2 separate regions of the Homo sapiens genome follow, and region 1 is linked to region 2. Evidence: promoter capture Hi-C in 16 types of primary human blood cells and fetal thymus (Javierre and others, 2016). All regions are on one chromosome and are shown on one strand. Each heading gives the region's core, a stretch centred on a gene start or on the middle of the fragment in contact. The rest is flanking DNA. Distances are from core to core; before and after follow the strand shown. Region 1 overlaps SNX10-AS1 (SNX10 antisense RNA 1). Region 2 holds the start of LINC02860 (long intergenic non-protein coding RNA 2860).

The links. The method cuts DNA at HindIII sites, captures the fragments that hold promoters and counts their contacts. A CHiCAGO score of 5 or more calls a contact.
Region 1: a contact is called between a fragment that was not itself captured here and the fragment with the promoter of LINC02860 in region 2, in 1 of 17 cell types (megakaryocytes). The highest score is 5.1, in megakaryocytes.

What each region holds. Positions count from the first base shown.
Region 1 is chr7:26,394,409-26,397,881 of GRCh38, forward strand. The region is part of intron 1 of SNX10-AS1 (SNX10 antisense RNA 1); the gene reads right to left. Among named protein-coding and RNA genes, the nearest start is that of LINC02981, 2.4 kb to the right of the region's middle. RefSeq lists enhancers at 3,297-3,473, 3,328-3,473. The HindIII fragment of the contact is 246 bases long and covers 1,775-2,020 here.
Region 2 is chr7:26,635,816-26,639,278 of GRCh38, forward strand. LINC02860 (long intergenic non-protein coding RNA 2860) reads left to right here and starts at 2,056. Exons shown (of 4, transcript NR_161202.1): 1 at 2,056-2,121; 2 at 2,680-3,463. The HindIII fragment of the contact is 19,305 bases long and covers 1-3,463 here.

The sequences.
Region 1 (3,473 bases), core at 648-3,147, 240 kb before region 2:
AGATAAATGACATGACTTAGCCACTACTTAAGAACTTTCTTACCTCATATATATATATATATATAATTTAAATATATATTATACATATTTAAATATATATAATATATTATAAATAATATATATTATTTATATTATATAATTTTTATATAATATAAATATATAAAATATATAAAAATATTATTTATAATATATATAAATTAAAAGAGAACTAGAAGGCCTATTTAGGATAATGAAGTGACATTACAAAACAAAGACTACATGTTACAATTTTCCTATCTGCCTTCGAGAGGGGAATGACTAATAATTTTATCTTCAAACATTTCTATGATTTACACGTTTTCAAAGAGGAATATTCTGATGGTGAATAATCCAGTTATTACATTATTTGCTAAATTAAAATAATTATTTGCTATTCTCCTGACTTAATTCTCAGATGTCTACAAACTAAAGAACTTAGGGCAAAAATGGCTTAATTCAGTCAAGAATTCATATTGTTAAAGGAAAAATCCTATGTGGGATCCATAATATGGCTAGTTATTTAGTGGGGAGAAAGCAAAGCAAAAGAGCAAATATTTTACTGCACCCTAAGAAAATATCAATTGGATTCAGCCAAGCAGTTTGCTATCGACTAAATCAATATATACCATTTTTTCAAACACTATTTTTTGGTAGAAAGAACCAATATAAGAATAATCAAAGTGTGATTGGTTTTGATCTTCAAATAAAAAGCCATCATAAGTCGCTGATACTGGCCAGGCGTGGTGGCTCACGCCTGTAATCCCAGGACTTTGGGAGGCCGAGGTGGGAGGATCACCTGAGGTTGGGTGTTTGAGACCAGCCTGGGCAACATGGTGAAACCCCGTGTCTACTAGAAATACAAAAATTAGCCAGGCGTGGTGGCATGCGCCTTTAATCCCAGCTACTTGGGAGGCCGAGGCAGGAGAATTCCTTGAACCAGGGAAGCAGAGGTTCCAGTGAGCTGAGATGGTGCCACTGCACTCCAGCTTGGCCTGGGCAACAGAGTAAGACTCCATCTCAAAAAAAAAAAAAAAAAAAGAAAGAAAAGAAAAGTTGCTGATACTTTTAGTGCCTACTCAATAGCCATCCTCCCTTATTCCTTATTCCTTGGGAGCTGCCCTGTCCAGATTCTAGAGAAAAAATAAAAAAGTTTCTAAGCCACTAAGCTTTGGGATAGTTTGGCTGCAGAAATTGATGACTGGGAAACGGACTAAAATTCAGCTTTTGTTTTGGCATTGCCTGTCCTGTCAATTCCCTGCTCTCCTGCACCGCTCCCCTTACCCTCAAAATAATTCAAGACTAAATCCTGATTAGTTATCAATTCTGATAATCTTGCCTCTCTTGCCAGTGGTAGTTTAGAGATAGTCACGTGCCCTGGTTCTGGCCAATGAGAAAAGATCTGAGGGATCTTTGGTATAATTTCTCCACTCTTAAAAAATTTGAGAACAGTCAACTTTTTTGGCTGGCCTTTGCCATGTCTTAAAGTGATGCCTGGAACTATGGCAGCCATTTTGAGACCTTGAGGAGAACTAGCTAAGGACAAGGTCAGCAAGCTGAGGATGGCAGAATTTCAGAAAGACGAGAAAAACTTGACAACATTAAACATTTTTGACCCACTAAATTAACCAAACTTAGCATCTGCTACCTTGGTACTTCCTACATGAGATACTACATTTTCTTCATTTTTAAAGCTACTACAGACAGGTTTTCTATTACTGAAATCAAAGTTATCCTAAGAAAAACAAGCAGCGTATGAAGCTTTATTTTATCACATCTGACAGAACAGCTCAGCCTTAAGTTGGGAGTAAGATTTATACAATTCTGCTGATAATATTTATTACTCATTTTAATTGTTTGCATGGTAATATTGAAGCCCCCCAACTGTTAGGAAATGTGCATTATTTTAACAATACTGGGTATCAGTAAATAAAATATGCTAAATATTGCTGAAAATAAACACTAAGTAACTCAATTTGTGTCATTATATGTGAGGAATGGGAAAAGCTTCTTGGAAGAGGTGATATTTAATCTGGACTTGGAAAGATCGGTGATATTTGAACAGTTGGACATGAAGTTCAAGGGCATTCTAGAGAATGTCATGGGAGAGGAAATGCAATAGCATGATTTGGGGATGTACTGTAGTAGACAAATAAGGCTGGAGCTGGGTTAGGTGCAGATTGTGGAGGGTCTTAAATGTCTTGCTAAGGGAGTGTGGAGTGCCTTTCCTCAGCAGTGGGGAACAGAGATATTTGAGTTAGTTACTGTGTATTGATTCCAGATAAACGAATAAAGCATATAGTATGTATATATTTTTTATAGTTTTTTTGGTATATTTTCATGAAAAGTGTGTATGATTTTAGTGAAACCATAAAAATCCATTTTCATTCCAATTTAGATTCTGTTTTAAAGTAGTTGCCAAGGAAACTAGTAAGTGACTGGTTATGCCCGATTTTCCCTAAGTTCAAAATTAGATGCAAATTCTTCAAAGAGACTACTTGAAGGCCAGTAAACATTTCAAAGGCAGTCAAGCTCAGACGCCTGGGTGTGTGGGTGCAGGAGGGTTAGAAGGGGGGTTCTGATGTTCCTGGAGGGAAGAGATGCCTTGCCTGTGTAGGCAAAGAGCTACTTTGAGGGAAAAAAGCTGAATGAGTTAGAGGTGAGTGCCCAGGAAGAGAAGCTGGAAGTGAGAGGTTCCACTGAAGTGCCTAGAAACAGACACTCTTTAATGGAGACAAGACCAAATTTCTGGAGTTTTCCTTTGTTTACATCTTTTTATCTTGTCTCGTTTCAAAAAGGAGTTAACTTTAAATATGTCCCTGAATAAACACGAGGCAGCATGACTCCATCGCAGGTAGAGATAGGACTAAAACATGATTCTCCTAAACTTTAACCCTGGAGTTAGCTCACTTAATCCTGTAAATCTCTGCAAAGACTAACTTTGTTCCCTGGCTCCTCCGTGGTTGCCAGGTGGTGGATATACATTCTACAACAGAAGAAACTGGAATCGCTAGAGGTGTCTTTTTTTAGGGCAAGGAAGCATTTCCCAGAAAACCCCAACAGATGTCCCCTGGCTTGGCCTTGGCCAGGACTGGTCACATGCTCTTTTCTAAGCCAGTGCCTGGGCAAGGGAAGGGGTTGGTCATAACGGATTTAGACTACTTAGGATTTACTTCTGGGCCAAGGAGAGGGAGGGGGTGAGGGAGGGGGTGAGGGAGGGGGTGAGGGAGGGGGTGAGGGTGGGGGCGGGGGGCTGGCCCGGCCTAAGATGGCTGGGGGTGATGCGTTCGGGGGACAAAGGAGTGCTGGACAGTTGTGTGAGCTGTAAGAAGGACCCGGAAAATACTGCAGAGTGATTGAGAGTGTAGAGGGGCCTGGGTTCTCACCTGTGCTCCCTCCCACCTTAGCTGGGTTATGCTGGGAACCTTTCAAGGCTTTGCTAAGCCTGGGTTTCCAGG
Region 2 (3,463 bases), core at 806-3,305:
AACCACATTCAAGGAACAGGGAAGAAAATAACTAATCTAAACCACTGTGGAAAACAGTATTCCGCTGGATGCTGAAAAGCCAAGGGCATGGAACTGTGCATAAACGCTGTGATCAGTTAGTAAAAGCATTTCTCATGGCAGTATGAGCTAGCCGTTCAAAACTACTTTATATAGATACAGTTGACCCTTGAACAATGCAGGTTTGAACTGCGAGGGTCCACTTATACATGGGCTTTTTTCAACCAGGCGTGGTTTACGGTATTCGAGGGATTTGAAACCTGCAGAGGCGGAGGGCAGACTTTTCCTCTACTCATGTTGCCCAGGTCTGACTTCGGAACTTGAGTATGCACGAACTTTGGCATGGGTGAGGGGGTCCTGGAACCAAACCCCTGTGTATACCAAGGGACAACGGTAGTGGAATTGAACAAATAAGTAAATATATTGTATATGATGAGAGCCAGGGTTTTCACTGTTGGAGAAAGATGTCACAAATAAGAGAAGAAACAAGTATAAAATGATTTCCTGTGGTATAGCTTAGAATCATGGGTATCACTATGAACTCAAGATCTTTAAAGAGGGCAGGAGAGAAGAAGACAGAGGTAGATGGGTATGTTTGTGCAGCTTAGCATGCACACATATATACCTAGCCCTCTGTTTTGAGGGCTTAAAAGCAATACCATTCCAATAACAATGGACCCATCTACAACATAGATCTTGGTCTCTCCACACCATTCTCCTGTAAAAGGAACCAGGAATCGTGAAGAAGTGGCTGATTCCCAAGCCAGGACATGGAAAACACAAGGTCAGTCTGAAACATCTTGTGGTGCCAGAAAATAAGAAAATGCTCAAAATAAAGATAAGAGTCTGTCAAAAGAGCTCGGGAACCAATGTGAAAGAGCGAAGAGCTGAGACGATCTGAGCAGCAAGATAAAGATAGCGTTACATTTTAAGCTAGACTAAAAACATCCACAAATACAATAATTAAACATCCACACTGATATGAATAAACAAACAAAAACCACATAAATAATGAAGGAGAAAAGACAGCGCTTCTGCACAGTGGAACGCCAATGAATACATGTAGAAGGGAAGAGGACAGGACTCCACAGAGTGAGCACTGCAGACAAGATCTGCTGAGGGATGCTAGCACTGGTGAGTGAAAGCTGGAGGACAAACAGGCCATGCCTAGTCTCAAAGCGTCAGCCTAGATACTTATCCACTGCAAAGGGAAAGATAATAACTTGACAGTGAGAAACCCAGCAGACACCACCTTAATCAAGTGACCAAGATCAATGTCACCAGTTATAAGATGTGGCTCTCATGAACCCCTTGAATGATGCACTGAGGAAGATGTGCCATGATTTTTGTGTATTCTCACCAAAAAGGCATAACCTTACCCCACTCATGAGAATGCACAAACAAACCCAAACTGAGGGATATTCTCCTGTGGAACCGATCCATTTTCTTCCAAAGTGTCAGGGTCATGAAAGTAAAGGAGAGACCATGGAACCGTTACCCAGTGGAGGAGAAGAAGGAGAAATACAGCTAAATGCAATTTAGGATCTTAGATTAGATCCTGAGCAGAAAAAAAGGACATTAGTGGAAAAAAATTGTGAGTTTCAAATAGGACTGTAGTTCAGTTAGTTACATTGTGCCGATGTTAATTTCCAGTTCTTAATAGTTGTACTATGGTTATATAAGATGGTGATATCAGGGGAAATGATAGAAGAGATATAAGGAAAGTATATATTACTTTTGCCACTTTTCTGTAAGTCTAAAATTAGTTCAAAACAAAAATTTCTTTAAAAAAATCCTATGTCCTTTCTTTTAACATTAGATGAGATATGTTGATTGAACTAAATAAAAAAGGACCAAGCATGGCTTTGTTTTCGAGTTATTTATGTATGCAGATTTCAGCCTTCTGGGTGAGCTTTCCTGCCGCTGAGTATCACAGATTGTTCCAACACTCACTTTCATCATTTCCTTCACGAGGAAAGAGGCCCACGAAGGTTAAATGACTTATATGAGGTCACAAAGTCACTTGGAGACAAAATCAGCAGTAGGATCTCGGTTTCCAGCCCAGTGCAATTTCTGCTCTATCCCGCTGACCTCATTGTTGAGGTAGGTGGTAATGTAAAGGGAAGAGCTACCCCTTATGGGATGTTTCTTTCTATCAGCCTTTAGAGGGTCAGGTTTATTTGCTGGTGGTAGACTGACAGCCCAACTACTTGATAGAAACCCTACGTTGATGTCAGAATGCTGGACACCGCAAAGCTCTGGGAAGCATCTTATAACAACGGCTCAACCATTTCCTCTTCAAATGTACTGCTTAATCACATAAGTTCCTGATACGGTTTGGCTGTGTCCGCACTCAAATCTCATGCTGAATTGCAGTTCCCATTATCCCTATGTGTCCTGGGAAGGACCCGGAGGGAGGTAGTTGAATCAAGGGGGCGGTTACCCTCATGCGGTTCTCGTGATAGCAAGTGAGTTCTCACGAGATCTGATGGTTTTATAGAGGCTTTCCCCTCCTTCCCTCTGCACTTCTCGCTGCTGCCACGTCGCAAAGGAAGTGTTTTCTTCTCCTTCCGCCATGATTATAAATTTCCTGAGGCCTCCCCAGCCCTGCGGAACTGTGAGTCAATTAAATCTTTTTCTTTATAAATTACCCAATCGTAGGTATGTCCTTATAGCAGTGTGAGAACCGACTAATACAGTTCCTTAGGAAGCCCCTGCTGGGTATGGATGGGGAGTGAAGCAAGGTGGGCCCAGAAGCTGCCGCTGGCTGAGAGACCATGAAGAAAGTGTATAGAATCTCCACCATCACCAGAGGAAGAGAGCTTGGCAGGAAAGTTACTTCCATGAATGGATGAGTTGAAGTGAACAGCGTCTTGGGCAAAACTGAAGGGTAGTTAGTCGGGTTTGTCTCTGGTGGGCTTTCAGCTCCACTCCCTGCATCCCATTCCCACATCGTGATGGTCCCCTCATAGGCCCAGGGCTACCACCTTGGAGCATAGGTGGGGATCCTCCAGCCAGGGTCCTTCCTTCACAGGGAGTCAGAGCCCTCTGCTCCGGAATTGCCCTGCCCCAGGTCGGCCATCTATCAAAAGCCCCACTATCCCCTAAAGACCCACCCTCAAGCAGCAGATGTGCAGCAAGGGAGCCGCAAATGTCATTCCTGTGACCCCGAAGCAGTCTAGTGTGTTACCTCTCTCAGGGCTGCTATGGGCTGAATTGCTTTTCCCCAAAATTTCTATGCTGCTTCCCTAACCCCCAGCGCCTCAGAATCTAACTCTGGATAGGACCTGTGAATAAGTGATTAAGTTAAAATGGGGTCCTGTGGATGGGCCCTAACCCAATCTGACTGGTGTCCTTTTAAGAAGAGGAAGAGACACCAGAGATGTGCACACTCAGAGACAAGACACATGAGGACACAGAGACAAGGCGGCTACCTGCAAGCCAG